Linked DNA regions of Homo sapiens: region 2 is linked to region 1. The links are contacts of gene promoters, found by promoter capture Hi-C in blood cells and fetal thymus (Javierre and others, 2016). All regions are on one chromosome and are shown on one strand. Each heading gives the region's core, a stretch centred on a gene start or on the middle of the fragment in contact. The rest is flanking DNA. Distances are from core to core; before and after follow the strand shown. Region 1 holds the start of AUP1 (AUP1 lipid droplet regulating VLDL assembly factor). Region 2 overlaps SLC4A5 (solute carrier family 4 member 5).

Evidence for each region. Contacts are between HindIII fragments. The CHiCAGO score rates a contact against its expected background, and 5 or more counts as called.
Region 2: a fragment that was not itself captured here is called in contact with the fragment with the promoter of AUP1 in region 1 in 1 of 17 cell types (M2 macrophages); the score reaches 5.7 in M2 macrophages.

Annotation. Positions count from the first base shown.
Region 1 is chr2:74,527,639-74,531,510 of GRCh38, forward strand. AUP1 (AUP1 lipid droplet regulating VLDL assembly factor) reads right to left here and starts at 2,068. Exons shown (of 12, transcript NM_181575.5): 1 at 1,942-2,068; 2 at 1,724-1,861; 3 at 1,494-1,644; 4 at 1,113-1,297; 5 at 779-851; 6 at 610-683; 7 at 302-368; 8 at 98-200. The coding sequence starts at 1,991. HTRA2 (HtrA serine peptidase 2) reads left to right here and starts at 2,295. Exons shown (of 8, transcript NM_013247.5): 1 at 2,295-2,874; 2 at 2,979-3,183; 3 at 3,273-3,467; 4 at 3,701-3,733. The coding sequence starts at 2,369. RefSeq lists enhancers at 1,512-2,341, 1,514-2,396, 2,852-2,981, 3,002-3,071, 3,102-3,181 and 1 more and a silencer at 2,372-2,461. The HindIII fragment of the contact is 3,652 bases long and covers 1,065-3,872 here.
Region 2 is chr2:74,333,442-74,337,313 of GRCh38, forward strand. It overlaps SLC4A5 (solute carrier family 4 member 5), which reads right to left. Exons shown (of 31, transcript NM_133478.3): 4 at 586-736. Among named protein-coding and RNA genes, the nearest start is that of SLC4A5, 8.0 kb to the right of the region's middle. RefSeq lists a silencer at 1-3 and an enhancer at 1,506-1,695. The HindIII fragment of the contact is 2,553 bases long and covers 627-3,179 here.

The sequences.
Region 1 (3,872 bases), core at 818-3,317:
CTAGAAGGAGAGGCTAACTAGCACAGAAATAGGGGAGGAATCACAGTAGGCCGAAAAAAAAAAACCCCAAAAGCTGTAATGTATAGAGACCACATACCTGACTGGGGGCGCAATCTGGGGTGTCTTTGTCGCTTCATGTGCTCTGCTTTGTCAGCTGGAGTGAGCCGTGTCCCTGTCTGGCCCAATTCCTTGGCCACCAGCTAGGGAGAATTGGAAGACTGGAAGTGTCAAGATCTCAAGCTTTCCTCCCTCTCCTCCTAAGCAGGGACCCCGCCTCCACCCTGTCTGTGCACCCGACCACCTGTTGTACACGGAGTGCAAACTCCTCATTCGCTTCCCCTAGTTGGCGATGAACAGGACGAAGCCACCTGCAAAGAAACAATCCAGGGCTATGTTGTGGGCACCCAGGGTAGAGGCTGTCACCATTCCCCACTTTGGTACCTCTTTGCATGGTGGGTGGGAAAATAGTAAATACTGTAAATACTTTGTGTTGCCTCTGTGGTAGAACCTTGATATAAAGATCTACAAATGGACAGGGCAGAGGCCACTAATTCCTTGACCTTGAGGTGAGCCTCTCCCCAGCGACCAAAATGTGAGGACAGTTAATACCTTACTTGATACACCGTGAAAGGGACGAAAAGTGACCACAGCAGTTCTGAGACCCAGGAGGCATCTGACACCGTCTGAGGGGAGGGCATGAGATGAGGCCTAAGCCAGGGCCAGGGATGGGAAATTTCCCCTTCAAGCCCCAGAGATTCCCTGTTCAACACACACTCACCACAGAGACCAGGGGTCTCTGAACTTGCAGGGTAAGAGGTTGTACCACATCTTGGATAGAAAATGGCCAGGAACTAGAAGAGGAAGGAGAAAGTAGGATGGGAATCCAGCCAGCCTAGTCAGCAGCTCACACCTGCCTTATAACAGGCAACTGTCAAACTCTACAAGCACATAATTGAAGAATGAAGGGATTCAGGAGAAAGAACTTAAAGTGGACAGAAAGGAAATGAACTGGAGATGATGGGGTCTAAGGGCCGAAGAAAGTTGTAAAAACTCAAGGGCCCACAAGCTTGACCACCTACCCAGCTGGCGCCCCATACCTGTGCTAAACCCACCTGAAGCGCAGGAGCCCCTCCCGGCCATTGGTGGCCTCTTCCTCAGGGAATAGCAGCAGAGGAGTGGGGGGAAGCCTCGTGGAAGCACAGAATCTCTTGAGTGACTCCACCAACTCCCCCCGCCCATTCATCTCCATGAAGCCCCGAGACCAGCACACAAAGCTGGGGGGACTATTGAGTAGAGGCTGGGAACCAGGAGAAGAGAAAGCAAGAAGAAAAATATTGAGGAAAATGAAAAAAAAAACTGACATGTTGGGTAGAGGATCGGGGTTAGGGGTAAGGCTCAGTATCCTCCATGGGGAACGCGAGTGGGGACAGGGGGGCCTTCAGCTGGGCCCCAGGGAACCGCCCCGTGGCGCTCTCGGCCTCGCTCTCACTCACGGTGCTACAGGTGGTAAGCAAATTGACTATGTTGTGGTCGAAAGGTGTCACATGGTTGGAAATGAGGACCCTGACACTGTGATCCCGGAGTCCGGAGTCCTCCTGCCGGGCCACGAGCCCTAGCACCGCACACATGGTCCGCACTACGAATCTGGGGACACAGGAGGTGGTGACTGTGTGGCCTCGGGCCAGACCCAGCTCTGACACTCCCCGAACGCCCGCGTCGGAACCTGCGAAGGACGCTGTCTGGCAGCGCGCAGCTGACCAGGAAGACGTGGATCCCGAGAAAGAGGCGCAGGACGAGGAGGCAGAACCCGACTGGCGCGTAGAGCAGCAGCACGAGCAGTAGGAAGCAGTCACCCGGAAGCCTGGGGGCGAGAGGCGAAGTGGTCAGGCGCCGAAGGCCGAGAGCACGCGGGGATCGGTCTCTTCCCGCCGGGTCTCTTACCGGTGCGAGTCAAAGAGCCGCTCCGGCCCCGGCCCTGAGGGAAGCTCCATAACTGCTGCTTCAGGAGCGCCCGGCCGTCGCCGCCGCCGCCATTTTCGCGCCCGGCCGCAGGGGCTCTTGGGAAGGCGGAGTCTTTGGGCATCCGCCCGGGGTGAGGGGACCCGAAGTCCTGAGGCGCGCCGGAAGGGCTAGCGGTCCCAGCATACCCCGCGGCCCCTTGGGCCGTCTCACAACTCGCGTCCGGCGGAGACCACAATTCCCGGCATTCGTGGGGCAGGGAGGAGTCGGCCTCCCGGAATCCTGGTCCCGGCGTGCACTTCTGAAGGACTTCAGGTACCGGCGTGCCCCGCGTCCTACTGTCCGCCTGCTCGCGTCCTGGGTGCCGCCTCTGAGTAGGGCGGGCGAGGAGGCAGCCAAGGCGGAGCTGATGGCTGCGCCGAGGGCGGGGCGGGGTGCAGGCTGGAGCCTTCGGGCATGGCGGGCTTTGGGGGGCATTCGCTGGGGGAGGAGACCCCGTTTGACCCCTGACCTCCGGGCCCTGCTGACGTCAGGAACTTCTGACCCCCGGGCCCGAGTGACTTATGGGACCCCCAGTCTCTGGGCCCGGTTGTCTGTTGGGGTCACTGAACCCCGAGCATGCCTGACGTCTGGGACCCCGGGTCCCCGGGCACAACTGACTGCGGTGACCCCAGATACCAGGACCCGGGAGGCCTCAGAGAACTCTGGAACCCGTTCGCGCGCGTGGCTGGCGGTGGCGCTGGGCGCTGGGGGGGCAGTGCTGTTGTTGTTGTGGGGCGGGGGTCGGGGTCCTCCGGCCGTCCTCGCCGCCGTCCCTAGCCCGCCGCCCGCTTCTCCCCGGAGTCAGTACAACTTCATCGCAGATGTGGTGGAGAAGACAGCACCTGCCGTGGTCTATATCGAGATCCTGGACCGGTAATGGTGGGGGTAGACCGGGAGGCACTGAAGCCACAGGCTGGAGGGCGGGCGGGTAGGAGGGGTCAGAGCCTCCTCTTATCTGTGCTTTCCCTCCATTTCAGGCACCCTTTCTTGGGCCGCGAGGTCCCTATCTCGAACGGCTCAGGATTCGTGGTGGCTGCCGATGGGCTCATTGTCACCAACGCCCATGTGGTGGCTGATCGGCGCAGAGTCCGTGTGAGACTGCTAAGCGGCGACACGTATGAGGCCGTGGTCACAGCTGTGGATCCCGTGGCAGACATCGCAACGCTGAGGATTCAGACTAAGGTGGGGGCTGGGGTAGGCCAGGTCTGGTTGGAGCTGCTTATTTGCTCGCATCTTCAGATGACAGGTCTCTTTTACCCATTCTCCCTTAGGAGCCTCTCCCCACGCTGCCTCTGGGACGCTCAGCTGATGTCCGGCAAGGGGAGTTTGTTGTTGCCATGGGAAGTCCCTTTGCACTGCAGAACACGATCACATCCGGCATTGTTAGCTCTGCTCAGCGTCCAGCCAGAGACCTGGGACTCCCCCAAACCAATGTGGAATACATTCAAACTGATGCAGCTATTGATGTGCGTCCTGATAGGAGAGAAATGACAAATGATGGGGGAGGGGGGAGAGGCTGTGTGGTACAAGCACCAACTGATATATGGTGGATGAGCCTATATAGAGCTTAGGCTGCAAAAATGTGGCCACTTATTCATGGGCTGAGAAAGAAGAGAATTTGGAGAAAGTACCTACATCCTGGTATGCCCCCAGACTTAGAATCCCCAGATCTCTTTCATGTTTTCTCCTTGTCCTACAGTTTGGAAACTCTGGAGGTCCCCTGGTTAACCTGGTGAGTGAGACATCCTTCCTTCCAAGAATCCCTGCCCCAGGTCAGTGTGGGAAGGGTAGGTTTCCCCTAATTCAAGGATGTTTGGTCAAGTTTCTGAGCAGTTCTTTGTTGGCTATCTCTCAATATCCAACCAGATCTC
Region 2 (3,872 bases), core at 653-3,152, 190 kb before region 1:
AACAAACAGCAGATCAAAAATATTTGAAAAAATAAAAATAAATAACAATACAACAATAAAAAATAATACTCCCAAAATACAGTATAAAAAACTATTTACATAGCATTTACATTGTATTAGGTATTCGAAGTAATCTAGAGATGATTTAAGATAAACAGAGGATTGCATAGGTCACATTTTATGTGAAGGACTTGAGCATCTTCAGATTATGATATCTACGGGTGGTCCTGGCACCAATCCCTTGCAGATGCTGAGGGATGACTGTTTGACCTCTGTGCCTCCATTTTCTTCAGATACCTGGTGGACAGTGATGGCTGCTCACTGGGACGGATTCCCTTCCATCTCCTGGCTAAATGCCATCTGAACCCTACCTGGGTTTGACATCTGAAAGGATTTAGGTAGGTCTGACCTAGGACCATGGCATGGGGGCAAAATTCTTTGAAGAAAATAGCAGCTTCCTACCCTGGAAAGGCCTGCGGGACTTAGGCCCTTGTTAATGGGACTAAGGATTCATTTGGGGGCCCTGGCAGGCTTATCTAGAACCTTTACCCACAAGAAGTTCCCCACAGGCTGGGCAGTACTCACCACAGTATGTGCAATTTTTGGCTTCCAGATTGTTTGTGCCAAGCTTTGGCAGGTGGTACAATATTGGCTGCCCCAGATTCTTGTCTGCTTTAGCTGTTTCTGAACCATGTCCAGGGTTGAGAAGGGAACATACTGTGATGGTGTCAGCACTCTGCAGGAAGGTGAAAAAAGGTGAGAGATATGTTAAAGAGAAGCTGAGACATTGTAAGAGGCCAAGCCCAGGTGATGCTGTGGAGGAGTTCTCTTTCTTCACCACCCCTATCTACTTCCCAATCGCTGCTGTGGCCTATGGACTCGGCTCACTCTACAGCAGCCACGACGCAAGTCTTGCTGTTCCTCTAACACCCCAGGCTCATTCCCACCTCAGGACCTTTGCACTTACTGTTTCCCTAATCTTCAGCCTGACTTGCTACCTCGTGTATTCAACTATTTGGTCAAATGCCATCTACCCAAGAAAACCTTCCCTGACCAGCCCATCTAAAATGCCCCTCTCTGGTCATTAACTCTGCTTTATTTGTCTAAATGGCATTTCTATCCAAAACCACAGTATGTGTTTATTCATTTGTTCACTTTTTGTCTGTTCCTCCAATATGGCAGAAAGTTTGTCTTATTCACTGATGTATCTCTGATACCTAGAATAGAGCCTGGCTCATAAATGATTGGGTCCAAATCCTGACTCAACTAACTGTGGCATCTTGGACAACTTCTTTTTTTTTTCACTGCAATTTCCTCAACTGAAAAAAAATGCGAATAATAATTATATCTACCTCAATGGTTATCTGAATCAATGTGAAACCTTAGGTCAATGTCTGGCCCACAGGGAATAGTTAGTATTAACTAATAATATTATTATAATTATTACACCCTCAGGAAGAAGCTCACATGTGTATCCTGAGGAGGCGGGGAGGGGGATGAGCAGTATTCCTAGCAGCTTGCAGGAGCAGAGAGTCTTTTTTGCTTCTCCAGGAACCAAGTCCTGTTCTCCCGTCTTGCCTGCTCTCTGCTGCCCTCTGGAGGTCTGCAGTGGAGTCAGGCAGGGAGCTGATTCAGGGACGCCACAGATTATGTATCCTCCACTTCCTATGGGATAGCTGCTATCATTCCCATTTTACAGATGAGGAAACCACTTCTCACAGTTGTAAGTAACTTGCCCAAAGTCATGTGATCTCCTGCTCTTAATCACATGATGAAGAATGAGACATTGCTGGATGACAGTCTCTCTACTTAAGCAAGCTAGAGCCCACGGAGGCATCTTGGGCCTTGGCAGAGCTGCCACTGGAGCCATCATTTGGCACACACTATTGGGAATCATTGAGGCCACAGAGGAAATGTGGGTACCTAGGAACTCGTTCTTCAGACAGATCCCCAAATGGACCCAGAAACAGCATGCAGCCAAGCAAGGGCTGGCCCCTTCCTTCCCCTCTCCCCAGGCTGTACTTCCTTAGCCAAAGGACAGTTCTCTGATCACCTCAGCCAACCTGAGCTACCCTGGAAAGCTACTTCTCACCCTGTGCCCCTGTGCCTCTCTCTCAGAGCGTATGTCACTGGCTGGGCCAAATGATCTTCATGTCAACCTAAAATAAGAGGGCTATGGAAAGACATAGCCTCTAGAGACATCTGGGAGCTGATTAACTAATAAGAACCTGGAGACACCAGCACTGTCTGATCAAAAGATACAATGGAGGAAAAGATTTCATTTTCAATAAAAACAAAAACCCTAAAACATCTAGAAATAAACTCGCCTAGAAATGCATGTTTTATATGAGGACACGTGGCAAAACTTTGCTAAGAAACACATAATAAGACATCATATTTCTGGATGGGAAAACTGAATAGGGCAAATATGCTTAAGTTCAGACATTTATATATATTTTAAATACAATTCCAAGGGCATTTTGAATGAAAATGACCAAAAAATCATGGCTAAAGTATGAGCTTAGAATGTACTGAGTTTTTACTATGTGCTAGGCTCAGGGCTGACAGCTTTACATACCTTACCTCAATTAATCCTCACAGCAACCTCAAGAGGTCATTTCATTTATTTATTTATTTATTGTGGAGACAGCATTCTCACTCTGTCACCTAGGCTAGAGTGCAGTGGCACTATCACAGCTCACTACAGCCTTGACCTCCCAGGCTCAAGCGATTCTCCTGCCTCAGCCTCCCAAATATCTGGGACTATAGGCAGGTGCCACACCATACCAGGCTACTTTTTAATTTTTTGTAGAGATGAGGTCTCAATATGTTGCCCAGGCTGGTCTTGAACTCCTGGGCTCAAGCAATCCTCCCACCTCAGCCTCCCAAAGTGCTGGGATTACAGGAGTAAGCCACCACGCCTGGCTGAGGTCATTATTAATATTTATGAAAGACAGGTTGGGGAAGTGATTAAGAGCAGGAGATCACATGACTTTGGGCAAGTTACAACTGTGAGAAGTGGTTTCCTCATCTGTAAAATGGGAATGATAGCAGCTATCCCATAGGTTTATGATGAGTATTAAATGAGGTAACATACATGAAACATTGAGAGCAGTGCTTGGCAAGTAGAAGCACTGATATGAACTACTATTATCCTCATTTACAGACGAAAAAACTAAAGCTTAGAGAGGATAACATAATTTGCCCAAGTTCACACAGCTGATAACTGGCTGCCCTGGCCTGGGGGATGGGAATAGGGAGTCTTGCCTACAAGATCTGAAAAATTATAAAATCATAATAGTTAAAACAGGAAGCACATCTTGTATAAGATATTTTTATATGCCTTGCAAGATTATGTTCTGAAATATTAGCCAATGCCTTCTCCAGCCTGATACTCCCCTTACCTCTCTCCCTTCCCTGCCTCAAATAGCCAGGCCATTCTATGCTCATTGCTGCAGGGAAGGTGTGTGAAAACAGAAAGAAGAGGTAAGGAGCCTCTTTCCTTAGGGGAATAGAAGAGACTTCTGGCCTAGACCTAGACCAAAGTGTGGGAGAAAATGGTCATGAGAAAGATCAAGGCATTCCCTGCCCCTCACTCATATCCAAGAATAATTCCCCAGGGCAAGGACAAAGGCTGGAGGGAAGTTGAGAAACATTGACTTTGCTAGGTCCTGGAGGCTGAGGTCCCAATCCCCGCTCCCTGGACTGAGCCCCACAGAGAAAGCAGCATCCCTCACAATCTGTGGATCTGAGAGCAGGGAACAGAACAGCTGCTGGGTGTATCTAGGCCAAGAGGACCCCAGGCAAGCTCCCTGAGTGAGGCTGCTTGAAGAGGTGGAGAGAGACTTTGACCTCCACAATAACCTGCAGGC